3 separate regions of the Homo sapiens genome follow, and all the other regions are linked to region 3. The links are contacts of gene promoters, found by promoter capture Hi-C in blood cells and fetal thymus (Javierre and others, 2016). All regions are on one chromosome and are shown on one strand. Each heading gives the region's core, a stretch centred on a gene start or on the middle of the fragment in contact. The rest is flanking DNA. Distances are from core to core; before and after follow the strand shown.

Region 1 (3,207 bases), core at 490-2,989, 670 kb after region 3:
ACCCAGGCCCAGGAACATACCAGGCACAGCAGCATCACCGGGCGCCTCCCCAAGCAGTCAGAGGTGGCCCCAGTGAGTGGCGCACACAGAAACTGCAGGACAGAGAATGCCGAGCCAATGAGACCTGAGAGACAGATGTCACCATCATGGGGCTGCCTGGCACCATGAGCTGTGGTCTTGGGGCCCTCAAGGCCAATGTCCAGCCCCGTCCTGAGGGTCCAGTCATGCTGGGCCCTACACTCACAGGCCATGGCCCTTGAGCCGAGGGGGCCCCAATGGAGAGATGAGGAAGGATCTGAACGTGACACGCGGAGGCAAGGGATCATGCCCAGAAGCCAGGACATGTGGGCAAGGGCACCAGACATGCCAGCCCAGGGAGTGGGAAGGCAAGGACCGAGAATTGGGGAGGGGCCTGGGCTGGACCACGTCCACCAAACATAGGACCGTAGAGAGCCCGCCAAGGGCACAGAGCCAGCCATACCTCCGAACAGGACACTGTTGTACCTCTTCTCCACTGGCATCCCGATGGCGGTGGCAAACCAGTCCACCCCGCCCTGCCAGGAGCCATAGAGGGGGTCCTAGGGGATGAGGAATCACGATAAGGGCTGGGGAGGTCTGATGGGCCTGGGGGGCAGGGGGCACTGTGGGCCGCAGGGCAAGGACTCACGTGGGCACGGCCGTGGCTCTCCAACAGCCCGGGCAGCAGGGGCAGCAGCAGCGTGAAGGCCAGGAGGTCCAGCAGGAGGCCGAGAAAGACAACGGTGACCACGCGGCGCTCCGGCGGCTGCTGGTGGATGGGTGGGCGCGGGGTGCAGCCTCCACCCCCTCCCCATCCCATGGTGGGCTGCTCTGACCTGGCCTGGGTGGGGTGCGGCGGGTCGGGTTAGCGGGGAAGCCGAGTCCTCCGGGGCCTGGCATACCCCCACACCCGACAGCCGGCGAGCACCCTAAAGGGGCTGATGGCAGGGGCTCTGGCCTACGGACGCAGGGGCCGTTCTGGCCTGCGCGATGCCCCCGCCCCGAACCCAGGCAGCAGGAAACGCAGGCTTCGGGGATTGCACAAAAAATAGCCGCAAAGGCAACGGTCCTGAGAGACCAGGGTGAGCACATCGCGGACCTGGCCCCACCCCACCCCACGGCCGCGCCTCCCACGCCCTCGTAACAGCGAGAGAAAACTTGAAGCCGCGGGGAACCCGGATCCCGATCCCGATCCCGATCCCGATCCCAACCCCAACCCCAGCCCCGGCCCGCGCCCCGCGATTCCGGCCCCTGGCCCGGACTCGGTCTCCCTGGCGGGGGCCATGGGGTGCACACCGGACGCAGGAGCACCCCCAACCCCGCGCGCCTCCCACTCCGCCATCCCGCGTGCGTCCCGGTCCCGCCCCCACCCCGCGCGCCCCCGGTCCCGCCCCCCACCCTGCGCGTCCCCGGTCCCGTCCCCCACCCTGCGCGCCCTCTAACCCCCACGCCGCGCGCCTCCCACCGCCCCCACCCCGCGCGCCCCTGGTCCAGCCCCACACCCCGCGCGCCCCCTACTCCCCTACCCTGCGCACCTCTCACCCGCCCCACCCCCGCGTACCCCGGGTCCCGTCTCCTCCCCCACCCCGCGCGTCCCCTGTCCCACCCCCAACCCGAGCGCCCCCTACGCCCCCCACCCCGGGCGCCCCCGGTCCCGCCCCGCACCTGCCGCGGCTGCGCGCTCGGGACGGACGGTCGCACAGACGCGGAACAGGGCACCAGGCACGCCGCCAGGGGCGGGACGGCCACGCCCGGCCACGCCACGCCCCGGAAGTGACGTACATCTCTGCACGTTCTCTTCCGGCCGGAGTCAGTGGCGGGGTTCTCGCCGGTCCTGCGGGTCGCTGCTTGGCTGTGGGTTAGCAGCACCCTGAGCGGAGCGGAAGAGCTGCCCGCCGCCGCGTAACCCCGAGGCCGAGACTCCTGGCCTGGCCTCCTTGGGCCCACGACGCCTGCCCCGCGGAGCGGACCCATGGGCCTGAGGTTTGTGTGCGGGGCCTCAGGCGAGCGCTGGCGCAGCCTGTCCCCCATCGTCTGCGCCCTGCGGGCCTGGCCCTCCCCGTGGAAGGACCGCGGGCTTCGGGGCCCCACGCTGGGGGGCTGACTCCTGCCACACACACAGCGGTGGCCGCGGGCCTGGGGCGGCAGCACAGCCATTCTGCTCGGGCTGCGTGAGCTGACCCCGCTCTCTGTGCACCTACTTTTGCTGCGTTTGGTGCTGAGCCTGAAGTCCCAGGACAGGCGGCTGAGGGGGAAAGATGGTGTGAATTGGGTGGGCAGAGACAACTGAAAGCCACAGGACCCGGTTGGCACCTTTTTGGCCGCCTGCGCCTTTGCCTGCAGCCCCGCTCCCTGGGTCACCCGAAGGAGGAGCTGGCGCTCTTTCCGGGCGCAGAAGCACCCGACCCACGCTGGAGGAAACGGTCCCTCTGGGCAGGAGAAGCTTTGGGCCTGGCTGGAGCACACTCACGGAACCACGCCAACGCCTGGCCTGTAGCCAGCTCCCACCTCCCCTCCCACCTTCTAAAATGCTTGCGGATCTCACGTGGCCGACCCTAACCAGATACACATGGGGAAAGGAATCAGGTGGCACACATACCGCCTTTACTCCATAGAGAACTTCCAATTGTGGGTAAGAACAAAGCCCCACCTCTTCCTAATAGATGCAGTTTTCCACCTGCAGCCAAAAAGACAACCTGTTATTAGCTTTTTTCCCAGAGGACAGGCATCTCTATGAAACTGCCATTGCAAAATTTGCCGACAGTGAGATAACCAGCTCCATTTTGCTTCTAACCTCCATGCCCTCCTTGTTTACTGCTGCACGCAGGTTGAACTGTGGGAGGAACTTAGTTTAAAACAAAGATGATAACAGCCCTTTCCCAAAGGAAACCTTTCCTGGGGATTAGCCTGCTTTTGTGGGACCAACAGATTAGCCACAAGATTAGAAACTACGGTTGAAGAGTCACGCAGCGGGAGGCTACAGGATTCTGACCCTCCCCAAACTGCTCCTGGCGATAACATCACCATCGTAAAGCCTAAGATCAGCACTTGGTGGGTCACCTGGCACCACCCAGGCTCATCTGATGTTGTGGCACCCAGGAACTGACTCAGTGCGAAAACAGCTTCGACTCCCTGTGATTTCATCTCTGACCTGACCAATGGGTACTTCTGACTCACTGGCTGCCCCCC
Region 2 (3,390 bases), core at 812-3,311, 710 kb after region 3:
CTGAAGGTAGAAGACACTGGATAGAGGAGCGATTGCAGAGAATCCTCAAAGTTGCCTTTGAAATTCCCTAGCTGAGGAAATTAAAAGACTGCTCTTTCTAGTCTTGAACTCCTGACCTCAAATGATCCACCCGCCTTGCCCTTCCAAATTGTTGGGATTCCAGGTGTGAGCCACTGTGCCTGGCCAAATTTTCTTTTCTTTTCTTTTCTTTCTTTCTTTCTTTTCTTTTTTTTTTTTTTTAAAGAGAGTTTCGCTCTTGTTGCCCAGGCTGGAGTGCAATGGCACAATCTCGGCTCACCGCAACCTCCGCCTCCTGGGTTCAAGCGATTCTCCTGCCTCAGCCTCCCAAGTAGCTGGGATTACAGGCATGCACTACCACGCCCGGCTAATTTTGTATTTTTAGTAAAGATGGGGTTTCTCCATGTTGGTCAGGCTGGTCTCGAACTCCCAACCTCAGGTGATCCGCCCACCTCGGCCTCCCAAAGTGCTAGGATTTACAGGCGTGAGCCATGGTGCCCAGCCTTTTTTTTTTTTAAAGACAGGGTCTCACTCTGTTACCCCGCTGGAGTGCAGGTGGGGAAATCATAGCTACTGAAGCCTCAAAGCCTTGAACTCTGGGGCCAAGCAGTCCTCCTGTCTCAGACTCCCAAGTGGCTGGGACCACAGGCATGCGCTGCCATGCACAGATAATTTTGTGGTTTTTGTGGAGATGGGGTCTCACTATGTTGCCCAGGCTAGTCTGGAACCCCTGGACTCAAGTGATCCTACCCTCCCACTTCAGCCTCCCAAAGTGCTGGGATTACAGGGTGAACCACTACACCCGGCCTATTAGAATTTTCAACAGCATGTAAGATCAAGTTTTCTAGAAAGAGTTATAAACTTAGTATTTCTTATCTGTCAGATATTTGAAGTAATCTATGTAGTAGTCAGCCAAATTATTTCTCTGCCAACAAAAGGTTACCCCATTTTCCCTAAGCAATAATGTCTACCGTCTGTTACTATCATTATGGTACAGCTAATTTGGGATGCTATCAATCAGCCAGGTTATTAGCAACCAGGTCAGTTTGGTTTTCTTATATTTTCTACTTTGTCTATCTAGATTATAATGGCTTTAAATCAGGATTTTTATTTCTTGGTCAGTGAATCAAATATTGGGTTATTGGCTTTATGCTACTTTAGGACCAAAAATATCTATACCACTGATACTATAAAATAATATTCTTGGCCAGGCACGGTGGCTCATGCCTGTAATCCCAGCACTTTGGGAGGCCAAGGCGGGCGGATCACGAGGTCCAGGTATCGAGACAATCCTGGCCAACATGGTGAAACCCCGTCTCTACTAAAAATACAAAAATTAGCCAGGCATGGTGGCATGCACCTGTAGTCCGAGCTACTCGGGAGGCTGAGGCGGGAGAATCACTTGAACCCGGGAGGTGGAGGTTGCAGTGAGCCGAGATCGTGCCACTGCACTCCAACCTGGCGACACGGTGAGACTCCATCTCAAAAAAAAAAAAAAATGTTCTTTTTTTTTGGGGGGGTCAGTCTCGCTCTGTCGCCCAGGCTGGAGTGCAGTGGCGTGATCTCAGCTCACTGCAAGCTCTGCCTCCCAGGTTCACGCCATTCTCCTGTCTCAGCCTCCCCAGCAGCTGGGACTACAGGCACACGCCGCCATGCCTGGCTAATTTTTTTGCATTTTTAGTAGAGATGGAGTTTCACTGTGTTAGCCAGGATGGTCTCGATCTCCTGACCTTGTGATCTGCCCGCCTCGGCCTCCCAAAGTGCTGGGATTACAGGTGTGAGCCACCGCGCCTGGCCAAAAGAATGTTCTTGAGCTTTATATTTTGACCCAAATTAGGCAATAGTTACCTTAAAGAAAAATGATACAGTCAAAATCATTTTGGCTTTATTAAAGCTCCTCAAAAAACTCTAGAATTAGGGCTTTCTTAAGTTACTTTTTAGCAGAAACATTTACGGTATTTTGTACATATGTGTGCAAAGTTGCTTATTAACATTTATGTCATGGTCATAAAGACTAATTTGGTAACAATATTCAGTCTCCAGTAAATATGTGGTTAATTGATATGCAAATTACTTCCAAAGTACAAATTAATAGTCTCATATTACATTTTTGTGCTTTGCTACCTTTACCTCAAACAAAATAATCTGTAGGATTCTTCATGCTTGTTTCAGCACCTTTTGCCCAGCTTTGCTTGCTTCATTGGCCAGAGGACTGTCAGCACCTCATGAAGCCCTTTATATGCTTCTCTGAGGTCATTTGCATAATGTTGTGGCCTATAGTAGGTTCTCAATAAATACCTGATGGATGAATGAATGAATAAGGATGAGGAAATGAACACGGTAGGTATGCCTGGATCTGAAGCAGAAGTGGCCCAAAAATGGAAGGAAAAGAAACTTGGCAGGAATAGCAGGAAGAAGAAAGCGGGGAGGACAGTATTGTGTGAGTTTGCTAGGGCTGTGTAACAAAGTGATACAAACCTGATGTCTCCCGCAACAGACATTTATTGTCTCACAGTCTTGGAGGCCGGAGTGCAAAATCAAGTTGTGAGTGGAGCTGGTTCCTTCTGTGGGCTGTGAGGAAGAATCTGTCGCAGGCCTCTCTCCCAGCCTCTGCTGGCTCGCTGGCAGTCTCTGGTGTCCCCTGGCTTGGAGGTGCATCATTCTGATCTGTCTTCATCTTCACGTGGCGTGCCCTCTGTGGGTGTGTCTGTGTCCAATTTTCCATTTTTATAAGGATACCAATCATGTTGGATTAGGGCCCACCCTAATGACCTAATTTTAACTTAATTGTCTCTATAAATACCCTATCTCCAAATAAGATCACTGTCTGAGGGTTAGGGGCTAACTGGGGAATAGAACTCTAACATAAACGTTTTTTAGGATGGGACGAATTCAACCTGTAACAGGTACCTCTGAAACAGATGAAGGCAGCCCATAGAGGGGATCCTTGGGCCTTCAAACACTGTGGCCCCACTTTACTGCCTGCTTTTGGGGACCTCAAAAACTTAAGAGGAATCCTCTGACAGTTTTCAACCCAGTATGCTGCCCAGACTTTAGTGTCTGTGGATGGTCCTCCTTTGAAATGCCTGTGGCCCTGCCGACCACCGTTGACCTCGCCATGGCCCCACGACTCATCATGCTCTGCCTGGTTCTTCACCTTCTGGCCTCCTTGTCTTTACGTAGTATTGACAGCATAGCCGGCCCACCTTTGAGTATGACCGGGCCCGGGCCAAACAGCGGGGACGTGGAACCAGACTGCTGTGCTGTGCCAGTGGAGACTTTTGGAACTGAGGACAGCTGAATGAGGGGTAGAGTGGCGCTAGGGTTCACCAGCACGTGTGCCCCAAACCTGCGGGGGGGGGCCCTTTCTTC
Region 3 (3,013 bases), core at 217-2,716:
GGACTCAGGGACGGGTCCCAGCCAGGGCAGCTGGAGACTCAACCAATTCCTCGCCTGGCTCAGGATGCCACAGAAATGGGTCCCTACACCAGCCTTTCGGATTCCCTAGAACAGGTGGACCACAGGAATGAGCCATGCCCTGGGGCTCTGAAGCCCCCTACAAACGCAGCTCCCAGCCTGCTCACACAAAAGGGCTGGGCCAAGGTGGGCCCAGACAGGACCAGGTGTGCTATGGTCCTCACAGCAGCCAGGAGGGTGGAAATCCCCGGGGAGCCCCGGCCCAGGGTCCCCACTCCCCACGCGGGGGACCTGTACGCACCCCAGCTTCAGGGCTTCTGCTGCCTGAACACGAGGTCAAGGTATGGAGGGCGCAGCTGGCACCCGTAGTAACGACTTCATGGGGCCCCTGCCCTGCAGCCTGCCCCCTCCTCCCGCCCCCTTAAAAGGCCTCTGTCTTAAAAAAGAGGACCCCCATACTGGTGGCTGGAGTTTCGCTGTGTCAGGAGGCTGGGCAGAAGCGGTGGGCACCCTGGGAGGAGTGAGGGCCCAGGACAGCGCCTCCACTCGCTTCTCTGTCTAGGCTCCTGGGGGCGGGGGAAGGTGGCCGAGCAGCAGAGTTCGGCTGGCAGAGCCAGTCGAAAGGAGGCCGCCCACCCACCCGCGGAGAGAAGGGGTTAGGGCCGGCAGCCCCCGCAGACCCTGGCTGAGCCTGTTTCCCCAGACCCACGGGGCACCGGCCAGCGCCCGCTGACAACTTTTCTACCGCCTGGAAAAGTCCAGAACAACTCGGGGGCGGGGAGCGGGCGCGGGAGCGGACCCCGGCGGCGGGCGCTGTACGCGTGGCACTGTTTACGCGAGCGGCCCGGGAGGCGCGGCCGCGGGAAGATGGCGACGGCGAGGGCGGGGCCGGCCGGGCGGGGCTGCGGCCGCGGCCTGCGCGCCTCCTCCTCCAGGCTGGCCGCCGGGGCGCGCGGCGGCGGCGCTGAGGGCCGCGGGCCGGGAATCGGGGCCCGGAGAGCACGCTCCGGGCGGGGGCGGGGGTTCGGACCGGGCCGGGCGGGGTCGGGAGCGGGGGGCGGTACCTGTTGTTCGGGGCCTTGCGCACCAGGCCGGCCGCCTTTGTTTTCTCCCTGGCGAAGTCGCCGTCGAAGGGCAGCACCGAGGCGTAGCCGTGCTCGGCCTCTGCGGACACACGGCGCGGTCAGCGGCCCCCGCCCGGCACGGCCCCGCCGCCCGCCCACCGCCGCGGGCGCACAATGGGGTGCGAGCGCTACCTCGATCCCTGCGCTCCAGGTACTCGGCCGCCTCCAGCAGGATCAGCAGGGAGTTCAGCTCCATCCTCCCGCCCGCGCCCGTCCGCCCCGGGACGGCGGCGGCCGCTGCCCGGCCCGCTCCGGCCGGCTCCGCTCGCCGCCCACCCCGCGCGCCCGGCCGCCGCACTTCCAGACTCCGCGGACTCCGGCGCTCGGCCGCCACCCTCCGCCTCAGGCCCTCAAATTGACACATAAGGGAGAGCGGCGGCCCGCAGAGCCAATGGGAGGCGGCGTTCGCGCCCCGGGGGCGGGCGCCGGGCCGGGCTGGGGCCAATGGGGACGGGTCGAGCGCCTCGGGCCGGGCCGAGAATGTTGACAGATGCAGAGCTGGGCTGGGATAGGCCGGCCGCGCTAGTAACAATTTAGAAGCCCGAGCTTAGCAACAGCACGTGGTGGCCCGGCCCCCGCGCTAGCTGACTGGCGGCCGCCGTGCATGTTAAGTAGGCGCCGCGCGCCGATTGGCCAGAGCGGCCTATGTAAAACAGGCACTGCGAGCCAATGGCCGGTGGCGGGGCGCGCGGCCAATGAGGGCGCCGCAGCCGGACGCGTTGCCGAGAGGAAGCGCAGCGCGCGGGGACCGCCCGCCGTCCTGGGGGCCCGTTAGGACGCAGGAGCGTCTCCGCTACGAGAGCGAAGCAGGGCGCTCCGGGGCGTGCGCCGGGCCGGGCCGGGCCGCCGGGTCTGAGCGCGACGAAAGCAGTGGCTGCGTGGGGGGACGAGGCCTCGCGCTCTGCCCGGGGGTCTTGCGTGGGGCCGTGAACGACTCCCCTCCCCGCCGGGCGCAGAGTGGCCCCGGGAAGGGCCGGGACCTCGGAGAGGGACGCAGACGCTCTGATCCTAAGAGCCAGGCGTCTCTGAGGGTGTCAGTGGGGAAACAGGCCCAGAGCGGGCGGGCTCCTCAGATCGCCCAGTGGACGCCGGAGCTGAGGGAGGGCCCAGGTCTGGGGAAGGGACACAGACGTGCGGCCAGAGTCGAGAGGCTCCCCGGAGTGGGGGGCTGCATGCTCTGTGTCTGGCCTGAGGGGCAGGGACGTTCCTAGAGGCAGGCGCTGGCCACCTCTGGCCGAGGACGCCCTAAGTGGGGACGGGAGTGAACCCTTCATCAAATCCCAGCTGGCGGGTCTCCCTAGTGACCCCTGACCCTAAGGCTGGCCCAGACTGGCCTCGGCACCCCCCACCCTCTCGCAGATTTTTTTTTTTTTTTTTTTTGAGACGGCTCTGTTGCCCAGGCTGGAATGCAGTGGCGTGATGTCAGTTCACTGCAACCTCCGCCTCCCGGGTTCAAGCGATTCCCCTGCCTCAGCCTCCCAAGTAGCTGGGACTACAGGCGCGTGCCACCACGCCCAGCTAATTTTTGTATTTTTAGTAGAGATGGGGTTTCACCATGGATGGTCTGGATCTCCTGACCTCGTGATCCGCCCGCCTCGGCCTCCCAAAGTTCTGGGATTACAGGTGTGAGCCACCTCGCCCGACCCATCTCACTGATTTGATTTTTGAGGTTGGTGGCCTGGATGTGCCAAGGGCCAGGCCCCGCAGGCTGGAGAGTGTGGAGGCATAAGGTGGCTGGACCCCTCCAGAAGTACTCAGTGGGACACAGGGGCTGCTGCTGGCAATGAAACTGAACAAAAAATGCAAAACCTCAGCACCAGGACTCCTGTGAAAGCTTCGTGTGCATCTCCCTGTGTTTTGCATGCCCGGCT

The links. Contacts are between HindIII fragments. The CHiCAGO score rates a contact against its expected background, and 5 or more counts as called.
Region 1: the fragment with the promoter of SLC75A1 here is called in contact with the fragment with the promoter of MXD4 in region 3 in 1 of 17 cell types (neutrophils); the score reaches 5.8 in neutrophils.
Region 2: a fragment that was not itself captured here is called in contact with the fragment with the promoter of MXD4 in region 3 in 1 of 17 cell types (neutrophils); the score reaches 7.3 in neutrophils.

The regions. Positions count from the first base shown.
Region 1 is chr4:2,933,086-2,936,292 of GRCh38, forward strand. It overlaps SLC75A1 (solute carrier family 75 member 1), which reads right to left and starts at 1,740. Exons shown (of 13, transcript NM_001146069.2): 1 at 1,684-1,740; 2 at 668-859; 3 at 482-578; 4 at 21-124. The coding sequence starts at 838. NOP14-AS1 (NOP14 antisense RNA 1) reads left to right here and starts at 2,461. Exons shown (of 4, transcript NR_015453.2): 1 at 2,461-3,207. RefSeq lists enhancers at 1-210, 231-360, 453-1,320, 2,578-3,207 and silencers at 1,161-1,380, 1,610-1,919, 2,080-2,189. The HindIII fragment of the contact is 5,918 bases long and covers 1-2,459 here.
Region 2 is chr4:2,969,155-2,972,544 of GRCh38, forward strand. The region is part of intron 1 of GRK4 (G protein-coupled receptor kinase 4); the gene reads left to right. Among named protein-coding and RNA genes, the nearest start is that of GRK4, 7.3 kb to the left of the region's middle. The HindIII fragment of the contact is 6,083 bases long and covers 1-3,390 here.
Region 3 is chr4:2,260,643-2,263,655 of GRCh38, forward strand. MXD4 (MAX dimerization protein 4) reads right to left here and starts at 1,467. Exons shown (of 6, transcript NM_006454.3): 1 at 1,275-1,467; 2 at 1,083-1,182. The coding sequence starts at 1,338. RefSeq lists enhancers at 1-586, 1,818-2,479, 2,480-3,013 and silencers at 687-746, 757-1,146, 1,237-1,296, 1,347-2,186. The HindIII fragment of the contact is 4,464 bases long and covers 1-2,974 here.